Regions from separate parts of the Homo sapiens genome. Here region 2 is linked to region 1. Evidence: promoter capture Hi-C in 16 types of primary human blood cells and fetal thymus (Javierre and others, 2016). All regions are on one chromosome and are shown on one strand. The core of a region is centred on a gene start or on the middle of the fragment in contact, and the rest is flanking DNA. Distances in the headings are between cores, read along the strand shown. Region 1 holds the start of AEN (apoptosis enhancing nuclease). Region 2 overlaps AKAP13 (A-kinase anchoring protein 13).

Region 1 (6,455 bases), core at 2,668-5,167:
TTTGTGTTTTAGTAGAGACAGGATTTCACCATGTTGGCCAGGCTGGTCTCAAACTTGAGACCTCAGGTGATTCACCCGCCTTGGCCTCCCAAAGTGTTGGAATTACAGGCGTGAGCCACAGCGCCCGGCCTTCATTTTTAAAGTACATGAAAAAACTATTTATGACAATGTTGAGTTTTACCTAAGCACTGTGCTCCTAGAGAACAGCAATGATTAACCCCTTACCCCCTAACCCCACCTCAACCCCGTCTCTCGGGTTCTGGAAATGGCTCACTGCAATGACTGAGATAAAACTCATGGATTCCCCTCTATGGCGATTCCCCACTATACCCTGTTACTAGACCGGATACAGATAGCCCCAATTCCCATTTGCCTCATAAGTGACTAGCTGAAATGCTTGGCCCATTGATCAGCTGGAAAAAAATGCTCATTAATGAAACTTTGGTTAAGCTTTTGTCCTTCCCCAAGGCCTCTGAATTTTGGCCCACCCTCAGCCTAAACCAGCATGAAATCCCTCTGTAACAGCCCCCTTGAGAACAGGCTGGCCTCAGGATAAAGCAATCTCTGATCTACTGCCCCACCCTGTCACTCTCGTTCATCCCACTTACCTACACCAGGTTCTTTCTAGACTGGTTTACTCCTTCCTATAAAAGAAAATCCCTTTTTGCCTACCCCTTGAGAGTTTGTAGATTTATGGCCTGAGTGTTCTCCCTGTTTACAGAGTCTTACCACCCTCACCCCACCCCAAAATCATCCTTTTAAATAAAATCTCTCTTTATCAAATCTGGGTCTGTTTTTTTATTTGACATAATATGCAACATTCTTTTTTTCTTCTTCAGCTTCTGCTACGGAGTTTTATCCAAGCATAATATATTTTCATGCTTGGTAATATTTTATGAAGCACCCTATTGTACATTTCTGTCACACAATTATGCAGATAAATTTGAACTTGTTAACTCTAAAAAATTTTCTGTGACCATGAGGTTCTAAGGGTTAATTTTTTTTCCTTCTAGATTGAAATGTTGTTGTAATTATTAGTAGTACATATGATTAAAATACATGCATAGCATTTCATTATATGAGAGAATCTTTAAACATACAAGTTAATTAATCTTCATTAAAATGTCATGGAAAATATATCTTTGAAGGAGATGGATTGAGCCAGTTATTTTTCCATAAATTTGTGAGTCCAGAGATGAGTATCACTTTTTGTAAGAATGAGACAGAGGTGAGTCTGTTGTTTTGATTTTATAGTTGTAAGCCTGATAAACATTGTTTACATTAAAACCATAGAGAAATGGGAAGGGTTTTAGTCTGGCAATTCTCCCACTTCTTTTAAATTCCTGATAATTATCTATACTCATGTATTTATTTATTTATTCATTTATTTGTTTACTGGAGACAGGGTCTGTCTGGCTCTGTCACCCAGGCTGGAGTGCAGTGGCTCAATCATAGCTCACTGTAACCTCTAACTCCTGGACTCAAGGGATCCTCCCACTTCAGCCTCCCCAGTAGTTGGGACTGTAGGCACACACCTCCACATTTATTTATTTTTGTGAAGACAGGATCTTGCTATGTTGCCCATGCTGGTCTCAAACTCCTGGCCTCAAGCAGTCCTCCAGCCTTGGTCTCAAGAAAATGTTTTTAATGACCTAACAACATGATTAGATCCTCCTTGGATCTTGGTGAAAGCAAAGAATGAGAAACCACCTGACTTGTAGAAGGATTTCTTGCCCCGTCCTCAACAATAATTAATACATTATTTAGAATTGCCCTATTGTTTCTCCTGGAGACTTTTATTTCCCAAGGTAATGCAGCAGAGCAAGATTTAGAACAGGTGCAGTGTGAATTGCCTTTGAAAAGTGGGAGACAGCTGGTTACACATGAGGAGAGGGAAGCTGAACCCCAAAGACCCCAGGCATATTCTGAGGCCCAGCACCATGGAAGCAGAGGATCTGGATATTGACTCTCTTAAAACTCTCCTTGGTTGGGTGTGGTGGCTCACGCCTGTAATCCCAGCACTTTGAGAGGCCAAGGTGGGTGGATCACGAGGTCGGGAGTTCGAGACCAGCCTGACCAACATGGTGAAACCCCATCTCTACTAAAAATACAAAAATTAGCTGGGCATGGTGGCACGTGCCTGTAATCCCAGCTGTTCCTGAGGCTGAGGCAGGAAAATTACTTGAACCCGGGAGGCACATGTTGCAGTGAGCCGAGATTGTGCCACTGCATTCCAGCCTGGGTGACAGAGTGAGACTCCATCTCAAAAACAAAAACAAACAAAACAAAAAAAACTCTCCTTGCCCCAGATTTACCTCCCACAGTCCCCATGCCTGAAGACCGCTGTCCTATAACCCCTTCCCCTCTGCTCTCTGATCAACGCTGCCTCCTAAGTAGCATTTGAATCTGTCATTTCAAATGCTACTTAGGTGGGGAGCTCTTTATCCTCCACACCACTCTGGACATCATGATCTTCCAAATTTCCACAAACACTCCCCCACTCCTTTCTCCAGTCCTCATCCATTCCTCTCTATGCTGCAGCCAGAACAAGTTTTTTCAAATGCAGATTCACTGGTAAACTATCTATGGCTTAAATCCCTCTGCCTCCCCAAAGCCTTCAGGGGCCTGGGTAAAAGGATTGATCTCTCTTGTGACCTCATCCCTTGTCCTGCTTCCCTCAAATTTGTACTCCCATCAGAAAGAGCTCCTAGCTTATTTCTCATCACAGGTACGTTTCCAAATCACTTCTGCTTGCAAAATGTGAACTAAGAGAAGTCAGACTGCTTAGGTAAGGATCTTTGGATTCTAGGTGTTTCTCCTTAATTTAAGTGTCAATTTCCTTAACTGTAAAACTGAAATAATAGTAAGGTCATTGTACAAATTAACTGAGTATTTTGCCTGGCACATCATTCGTGCTCACATAATACGTGTGAACTGTTTATTATTGTTCTTGTTATTACTCATGTTACACTGAATTTTCTTTCTTTCTTTCTTTCTTTTTTTTTGAGACGGAGTTTTGCTCTTGGTGCCCAGGCTGGATGGAGTGCAATGGCGCGATCTCGGCTCACTGCAACCTCCGCCTTCTGGGCTCAAGCGATTCTCCTGCCTCAGCCTCCCGAGTAGCTGGGATTACAGGCTCCCGTCAACGCCCGGCTAATTTTTGTATTTTTGGAGAGATGGGGTTTCATGTTGGTCAGGCTGGTCTCAAACTCCTGACTTCAGGTGATCACCTGCCTCGGCCTCCCAAAGTGCTGGGATTACAGTCGTGAGCCACCGCGCCCCGGCCTCATGTTGCACTGAATTTTCTGTTAACCTTGCTGTTTCCCTGCTGTTAGATAAACAACTCAGGATGCTTATGTGTTTATTGTGTGCATCCCACTGCCAAGCCCACGTAGGAACTTAATACTTAGGAGTCAAGTGTTGCAAAAGAATAAATGAAAAAGCAGCGCTGACGGAGGAAACCTGACTTTCAAAGTCTCTCTTTAGTGCCTACTGTGTATATTATTTCCTTGAATCCCAGAACACCCGAGGAGGTAAGGGCCGATGTTCCCAATCTGCAGATGTGGGTGTACTCAGTAAGTCATTCGGCCTTTGGTGGTACCAGGCTTACAGGAGCCCACATCCCGACCCAGGTAGAGGAGTGGATTGGAGCCGGGGAACACTGATGGGACCGGGCAGGGACGACAGGAGGTCAGTCTCCCTTCCCTTCTCTTTAAAATTTCCCGCCAGTATGGCCGGCTCGCAGCACGAGTTACGCCCTCTTCAGGAGTCCCTCCCCTTCTGCTCTCGCCCGCCTCCCCGCTGCCAGGCAGGCTCGACCAATCAGAAGAGGTCTTGGGCGGGCGCTGCCGTCCAGCGAGCCAATAGGCGGGCAGTCGGAGCCGGGCTTGCCCGGGCATGTGGGAGCTGCCGGCTTTCCGGACGCCACGTGCAGACCGGAAGAGACACGCGGGGCTTCAGGTGAGATCCAGGACCCTGCACCGGGGCGGCGGGGTCGGGCGGGCTGAGGCCGCGTGTCCCGGGTCGCAGGTCCCCGCGCGTTGTTTCCGCCCCGGCCTGCGGCGGGGACGCCTGAACTGGGCTGACCCTGCCCTACCGGCCCGCAGAAAAGCAGGCCGGGCGCCGCCTGTCTCCAGCCCTCGCTCTGCTCGGGGGTCCAGGGCCAGAGGGGGCGGCGCTGGTCGTTGGGACTCGGCCCAGCTGCCGCGGCCAGCAAGTGACCAACGCCCGAGTCCTTCCCGGTGAGATCAGGCCTCCCACGCGTCACGCCTGGGAGAACGCCAGCCGGCGGGGAGGTCGTGCCAGGATAGCAGACTTTAGTTGTTGTCGTTGTTCCGTGGACTTTTTAGCAGCACAGGGGACCTTATCGAGCCAGGTTTTTTCAGGTTTGGGCGATTATCAGAATTGTGGCTTGAGGGTAGGGGTCGTCCGCGCTCTTTTTAAAAATCTAGATTCTCAGGCCCCTTTCCCCAAAATAGCAATTAGGACGGTGTGGGAGTGGGCCTGAAAATCAGCCTTTCATCAGATGTCATATGGTAATTAACTACATTTGGGAAGCCCTTATCTAATTCACAGCCCTCGGTTGATGGTGAAGAGACGTGACTTGCCCCAGATCATCTAGCTACTTAGTGCCAGAGGAGGGTCTAGAACTGCCCTCTGCCCTCTTGATCAGCCAGCAGGTTGGTGGCTCTCATGCCACCGAGGATTCTGACTTCTTGGTTCCTTTGGGGCCTTTGCTCCATTGACTCTGCAGCTGGGACCCTTTCTTTAGGCCAGACCCCCTCCCTGCCTGAAGGCCGGGTGTCTGACCCCCAGAGCGCTGGGTCCAGGCTAGAGAAAGGCTTGTGTTTGTCCTTGTTGAAAGGGTTGTTTTATCTGAGCGGAACTTCTCTCCAGCTTCACTGAGCTACATTTGGGTCCCCAAAGAGGTGTGTCCTTGATGACTGTTGGTTTTGACGTGTCAGCATGTAGCAGGAGGAGCCGCGGACAAAACCCCACAGAGGTAGTGAAGGAATTGGCTTTTAATCAGCTGGAAGCATCGGCAGACTAGCATCTCAAAATCCGAGCTTGTTGAGTGCACAGTTTCTGTCCCTTTTAAGGACTCACAACACTAAAGATTTTACAAGAAAGGGCCATGATTGATTGAGCAATCTAGGGGGTATGTGACAGGGACTGCATGCACCGGTAGTCAGAGTGAAACAGAACAGAACAGAACAAGAGATTTCACAGTGTCCTTCTATACAATGTCTGAAATCTATGGATAACATCGGTTGCTAGGTCATGGGTTTAATTTTAACTATCAGGCTAAGGTCAGGCAGGCCCAGGCCTGGTTTTGGGTCTGGTTTTGGGTCTGGTGCGTGGCGCCGGGCTGCCTGCCTTTGGTTTTGCTTCCTTGTTTCTTCTTAAAACAGGTACTGAGTATAAAATAATACAGAACAATATGAGGGGGAGGTCTCTTTCTCTCTTCTCTTAAGCAAGGTCAGGGTGTTTGGAAAAGGACTACTTTCCTCTCTTGAAATAGGAGGCTACAGAGACCTTTTCTCAGATAACTTAATTTCTGGCTTCTTTAAAACCTTGCCAGTAGGATCAGGAAAGCCACCCACCCTACTCCTAGCCTCAGCCCCTCACAGAGAAAGGAGGGGACTATCCGCCAGCCCCCTTTCCCAAATTAGTTATTAGCAGGGTGGGCATTGGGCTTCTTAGGCTTTTTTCTCCCATTGCTGGGCTGAGGCAGATTAAGGTTCTGAATTTGTCAGTTCTAAGATGTGACTGTCAATATGAGGAAGTTGGTTACAGTTAAGACCTTTTTAAAAGAGAGACCTTTTCTCCTGGAAAGGATGGGATGAGCAAGCAGGGTGGATGAGTCAGGATGGGTCAGGTCTGGATGAGTCAAGTCAGGATGCGGTGCCCTGCCCTAGAGTGTGGGGATTCTTTATGCAAATGCTGGCATCATCAAACCTGGCATTTCACCTCACCTCCCATCCCCTTCCCATTTCTCTTAATCTCTGCTGCTACTGCTCAGGTTTTCATCTTCTCCAGACCTCTTTCTACACCCTTCTGAAGAGGACCTGCCACATGCTAGCTTCTAGGCTGGCTGTTGGGGAAGGTACAATCAAGGCTCTAACCTGCCTTCTTACAGCTCTGAGGTAGACTGTGTGTACCAATGGACTTTGAAGGGTGTAATAATTCTCAAATTGTGCTATAAGAGCTCAGCACAGAGGGATGAATTTCTTTGCTCCCCAGCTAGACTTAGTGTCCTGAGTCAGGGCTACTGTGGGATATTTCAGTGACCTCCATAGGTGCCTCTGGGGCTCCCCCACTCACTTGGCCAGTAGAGACCAATTCAGGGGACACCAGATTGCGGTAGGGGTGGCTTGTGGAAGGGCCACCAGAGTAGGAAACAGAAGATGAAATGGTGCAAAGGAGAGAGGAGCGAGGAGCAGTGCCTCCAGCAT
Region 2 (5,913 bases), core at 2,073-4,572, 2.9 Mb before region 1:
TCCAGAAGTAATGTAGAAATAGTCTCAACATCTGGTGATAGCATTAAGGTTTATGTAAGACAGTCTGCAGCCTGCCTCTTATAAAAAGAAGGGGGTAGGCCAGGCACGGTGGCTCACGCCTGTAATCCCAGCACTTTAGGAGGGCAAGGCAGGTGGATCACGAGATCAGGCGTTCAAGACCAGCCTGACCAACATGGTGAAACCCCGTCTCTACTAAAAATACAAAAAATTAGCTGGGCATGATGGTGGGCGCTTGTAATCCCCAGCTACTTGGGAGGCTGAGGCAGGAGAACTGCTCGAACCCGGGAGGCGGAGGTTACAGTCAGCCAAAGATCGCGCCATTGCACTTCAGCCTGGGTGACAGAGCAAGACTCACACACACACACACACACACACACACACACAAAAGGAGTGAAAAGGATTGAAAGCAACAAAATAGTATGTAGTCATCTTCTCAAAGGAACCAAAGTAATGGGCTGATTATCTTCAGCTTCCTGAAGAAGCTGAATGTTTGTATGTAGGAAGTCCCATGTGTTATCTTGGCAGGAAGTAGAAAATATGAGTAATTTGGGGACGCAGAATCTTTCGTCACTTCCCTCCATCGCGTCTCATGTCCAGGATCTTCCCAGGAGTCGTAGGAAATGTAGCATCCATGCAGTTAGTCGTTTACCTCCTAGGAAACCTTTGTGCTCTTAGGAGACAGTGGCTTCCCATTGTGGTTAAGTGTAACCCTGTTTGGCTGACCCCTGGATAGAGCTTCATACCCTCAGCACTGCATAGTCACCTTTGACTTGTGGTTAGAAAGATCAGCCATATAGTCCATCATGATGATATGTTATGATGGTTTATACAAGAAACTGGGACTTTTTATCTCAGCCAAAACGCTACTCTTGCTTTAGGATTAGGTGACTTTAACAGGGTTAATAGAGGAATGTCTTTTCAACTCTTATTTCTCTATTATGTAAAGCTGTCCTTGAATAGTCAGCTGTTCTTTCCAGCTGCCACAAATAATTTGTTCTTTGAAAAGCTTAGTGACTTAGTGGGGTCTTTCAGAATAAGGAATTTGTTATGTTCAGGTTTTGGGGTCTTGCCAGTGGTTCTGTTTTGCTTGCTTTAAACAGATGTAAAATGATACTGAGATTATTGCTGATTTATTTTCTGTTGTGCTAGCAGCATTTCAGTACTTTTGTGGTAGGTTGTTTCTTTTACATAAAAAATAAACAAGTAAACCAGCTGCAATCTAAGTAGGAAACATAAGAATTTAGAATGTGTGTGATGGTTAGATTTTACTTCTGATTTCATCAGAAAAGTTGCCCTCTAGACAGTTTTCTGGCATTTATAGTTCATTGCTTATATGAGAGAATAAAATACATATAGTTGATTAAAGGAAGGAAGTTTATTACTTAGGGAAAAGGAAGGTAAAAAAAGACCCTAAGCAATAAAGGCAATTCTTTTTTAAGCAGAATACTTTCATTTTATTTCATTTTTGTTTACCAGTGTTGTTACGAAAACTGCTGCTGGGGCTACTTCAGCTGAGATGATTTGGCTCTTTTTTGTGGCTTTCTTCTTGTTCTGTACATCAGCACTGTGGTTATTACACCAGCTACCAAGAACATCTCACATGCCTTTTGCATATAAGCACTCTTAGTCCAGATAGGGCGATGTCTCAAATCCCCCAAAGATTTTATTTATTGGCCAGGTGCCGTGGCTCACGCCTGTGATCCCAGCACTTTGGAAGGCTGAGGCGGGTGGATCACCTGAGGTTAGGAGTTTGAGACCAGCCTGGCCAACATGGCGAAATACCATCTCCACTAAAAATACAAAAAATTAGTCAGGCGTAGTGGCATGGACCGGTAATCCCAGCTACTCAGGAGGCTGAGACAGCAGAATCACCTGAACCCAGGAGGCAGAGGTTGCAGTGAGCCAAGATCGTACCACTGCACTCCAGCTTGGGTGACAGAGCAAGACTCCATCTCAAAAAAAAAAAATATATATATATATATATACACACACATATATTTAATAATTTTTTTTTGAGAGACAGGGTCTCTGTTAAAGATTTTAAACAAGAAGTTTAAAGTTGCAGAAAGAATTTTGTAGCATGCATTTCTAAATTTGCTCATATTTAACTGTTTTTTGTTTTATTTTCATTTTCTTGGTTAGAGTTGAAATGATAGGAGAAAGTTGTGCATTTCTATCCTTAAAGGTAATTCCTCAACTTGTGTCCTGGAGAAGAATCAGGTCATTTTTCCCAGTTAGATTTTGCTGCTCACATCTGTAGGCAGAACAGTCAGAAGTCTTCAGCCTATTCCCAAGTGATGATCAATGAACTGAAGTACTGGAAGACCTTTTTTGTCAGAGCCTTGGCTGCATATGACTCAGCTCCCAAAGGTGGCTCGTTTCTGTGTAGGCAGTCCTTTGATATTCTGTCATTTCATTTCAGTTTGGCATGGCCACTCCTCTTATCATTGTATAAAGTTGATTTTCTTAAGTTAGCCTCGCTAATGGTTTGTTTTATTTTTCTTCCGAAAGATAAAAAACACATAGTATATAACCATTCGCCAAAGATCTGTGGTGGTTGGTGGCATGGGTTAAAAAAAAGATACAGCAATAGATAGATGATAGTTTCCAGTCATGTGGGTTTAACTTCATTTTCTTTGGTTTGATGCCTCCTTGTAGCAAAGAAAGAAGTTGAAGGCTGGACTGTTTGTTTTAGGTACAGAGGAATCCGATTAGGGATCAGCTCTGTTCCCATAAACCACTGTGCTGAGACCTTTTTGAAGAATTTTAAAAAATGAAAGCATATTGCCTACTGCTATTAGGAAATCTATCAAATAAATAAATAAAAGGCCAGATAATTATTTTCTGATCTTCATAACAACATGGTATGGTTTGTGGCAGAGAGCTTAAAAATGTATTAGATTTGTCTTCAATTCTTGTGTTCTTGGTAATTTTCTGTTTTCCCAAACAGAGAGTAAGATTTTAGTCTCATGACTTTGGCTGATGTCAGTGGGGCTGAAGTTTCTAAATCACCCACGCACAGCTCTAAAACTGTCACTGTGAATTGAGTCCAGGACAACTTGGAAACAAGTTGAGTGTTTTTCAAGTAGGTACTTCAGCATGTTAAGGAGATGTCCATGCAAACTATCACTAAGAGAAAACTCATGACCATAATATAGAGCGTGTTAAACTTCCAGCTGGGTTGTGGGTTTGGGGACATGTTTCAATTAATTAAAAGTGAATTTATGTGAAAAGTTCTTTACTAGAAGCACATTTTAAATGATTTTTTTCTGCTTCTATGTTCATCTCAGACACTCAAACACTGGCCTGAGAGTTTGAATATTGCTGAAACCTTTTTACGTGATAGTGCCACTCCCTTAAAAATCATCATTGCTTAAATCTCTGTAGGGTGTTGGAACTGGTTGGGAAGAAAGGAACAGAAAGAACAGAACTTGGAAACAAATTCTGCCCATAGTGTTCTTGGTCACTTTTGCAGATCAGAATTAGTAGCTGGTTCTCCAGCAAATCTGCCACCTCCTGTGTTGCCCTTAGGTGCCTAAAATATTATAGATTTTCAATAAAACAAAAGAAAAAAAATATACTTTTTTAACTGGATTATAAGACAATAAAATCTTATCTTTAAGTTATCACAAGATGCGATAAATGGATTATGCAAAAGGATATGGAAATGTTTATAAGCAAATCCAAGGAACTTTGAACGACATTAGAGTGTGATGATTTTTTAAAAATTAAAAATTTTTTTTAATTTTGAAAAATGTTAATACAAAGTATTATACATAGGTAATTTATCACATATGTGTCCATGATTCAGAATGAACACATAGTAACATTCTGTCAGACGGCTTCAGATTGTTTCACTTTTTAAGAAACCATTATGGTTAAGTTCAGATTCCCCTTTGTTTCCCTGCCCCATGCATCTTCCTTCCTCCCCAAGGACAAGGACTGTCATGAATTCAGTGCATTCGTAGTCTGTGTTTTATAATTTATTTTCATACATAAACAACATATAATTTGTTTTTGTTTTTAACCTACATAAATACTACCATACAGTACCTCTTTTTGTAATTTGCTTTATTCTCTTCAGCATTATATATTGAGGATTCAGCACGCTGAAAAACATAGATCTACTAATCATTGACTTTGCCTTTTCATAGTCTTTTTATACTTTTTCTGTAGAAGGGAAAGAGAAATGGACTTAAAGATGATGTATTTGAAAGACTTTAGCTGAGTGGGGATTTGTGAAGAGAAAGGGTTTGAGTGGGGTGGGCTTTCAAGTCTGTGCATGGGAAGGATATGATGGATCAACTAATGGGAGAGGAAGAAACCAGAAAGGAGCATGCCAGCTGCAAGTCCTGGGCATCTCTGTGGCAGAGGAGGGGAGGTGCACCATACACCCTGAGTAAGAATAGTGCTCGTGAGGATGGGCAGAAACATGTTTTGGCTTACTAGAAAATAAATAAAGCCGTTTGCCTCGACCACTTTGTTATGCTTCTTGCTGTGGGTCCAGCAGCCTGAAACTCACTTACCCATCTGATAGAATCACAGCAGAGGGAACCTGGGGGAAAATGTGATTCCTCCTTTTTAATTTTATAGATGAGGAAACGGAGGCCTGTCAAGAAGGGACTAGGGTCATACTAGTACATACATACATGCAGAGCCAGGACCTACGTCAAATTTAGTTTGACAGCTGTTTGTCCTTTTGTGTTACTAAATTGATGTTTGACATACTGTAATCAAGGCTGTGTCAGCGCATTCATCTAATTTTAGTTTAAATAGGCATAGTAGGGCCGAGAGAGGAGCATTTGAATAGGATGCATGAGCTAGGCACTATGCTGGAGAGTCTTAATTTGAAGATTCAGCAGTGGGTGAATGGTCCCTGCCCCAGAGAGGGGATAGAGAAAAACCTAAGAGAGTCTCAATACACTGTGCCAGTGGTATTAAGGAGGAGACCTGTGAACCAAGTGGGTGTTAAAGGAAGTGTTACAAAAGGCATGGAATAGGCCTTTGAGGTCTGGGATTCTAGCAGTCTCCTTTCTGGTTTCCTTCCCTCCCCATCATCACTCCAGTCCCCCACAAATCCATGTGTCTGGGCTAAAAGAGATGTTGGCCCAAAAGAGATGTTGGCCCTTAACTGGTGAGTTGATGTAGACAGGACCTGTGATGCTTCCTGAATCAGTCTGTGAGGCATTGCCTAGTGAATGGTATCTGTGGTTGATTTCCTGAGTGAGCCCTTCCCATGAGAGTGTCTCCTCGAGTGTCCCCACAGGCCGATCTTTCATTTGTTTCTGCTTTACCTCTGGCTTCCTGGAACAGTTCTGTTATGTGACTTTATAGCAGCGCTGAGAGCTGATGGTAAGCCTTCTGAGACACAGAGGCTTGGGTTTTTACGTCAGTGGCCCTTGTAGGCCAAGGGAGTGAAAAGTAAAGGAATTGAGATAAAATGCTGTCCTTGCCAAATTGTGGTTTCTGCTTTATCTTTCAAGAAGTCTCCATTTTCTCTTAAGTCACAGTTCCCAGAGGTGCATGTGGGGGTTCCAGTGACCTTTCATGTGTGGTTCCTGTCTCAGAGAATGGGGTGCAAAAAGCCCAGCGTAGTTAAGCTTTTCAGATTTTATATTCTGTGCTTTATTACAGTCATACAAATTTTGTAACCCCTGTTAGGGGCTTTATTAATGTATTTATTTGTAATTTAGACTTACACATTGATGGCAGACACTTTCACTTTTAGTTTTGGTAGCCTCTCAGCTTCCTGTCTGAAAAGTTCCAGACTTACTAGTTTTTGTTGATTAGAAATCACATCTGTTGCTTCCTAAGGGCCAGGAAACTCACCCTTCCCATCAGATCACTTGAGTCGTTGTTCCTCTCATTAAGCTGTAATCTGTCTCCTGGTCT

What was found. Contacts are between HindIII fragments. The CHiCAGO score rates a contact against its expected background, and 5 or more counts as called.
Region 2: a contact is called between a fragment that was not itself captured here and the fragment with the promoter of AEN in region 1, in 1 of 17 cell types (erythroblasts). The highest score is 7.8, in erythroblasts.

Annotation. Positions count from the first base shown.
Region 1 is chr15:88,617,423-88,623,877 of GRCh38, forward strand. AEN (apoptosis enhancing nuclease) reads left to right here and starts at 3,918. Exons shown (of 4, transcript NM_022767.4): 1 at 3,918-3,960. RefSeq lists enhancers at 3,126-3,799, 3,800-4,473, 3,803-3,962, 5,449-6,455 and a silencer at 3,983-4,172. The HindIII fragment of the contact is 13,176 bases long and covers 449-6,455 here.
Region 2 is chr15:85,701,867-85,707,779 of GRCh38, forward strand. The region is part of intron 17 of AKAP13 (A-kinase anchoring protein 13); the gene reads left to right. Among named protein-coding and RNA genes, the nearest start is that of LINC02883, 54 kb to the right of the region's middle. RefSeq lists a silencer at 2,986-3,115 and an enhancer at 5,482-5,791. The HindIII fragment of the contact is 4,594 bases long and covers 1,026-5,619 here.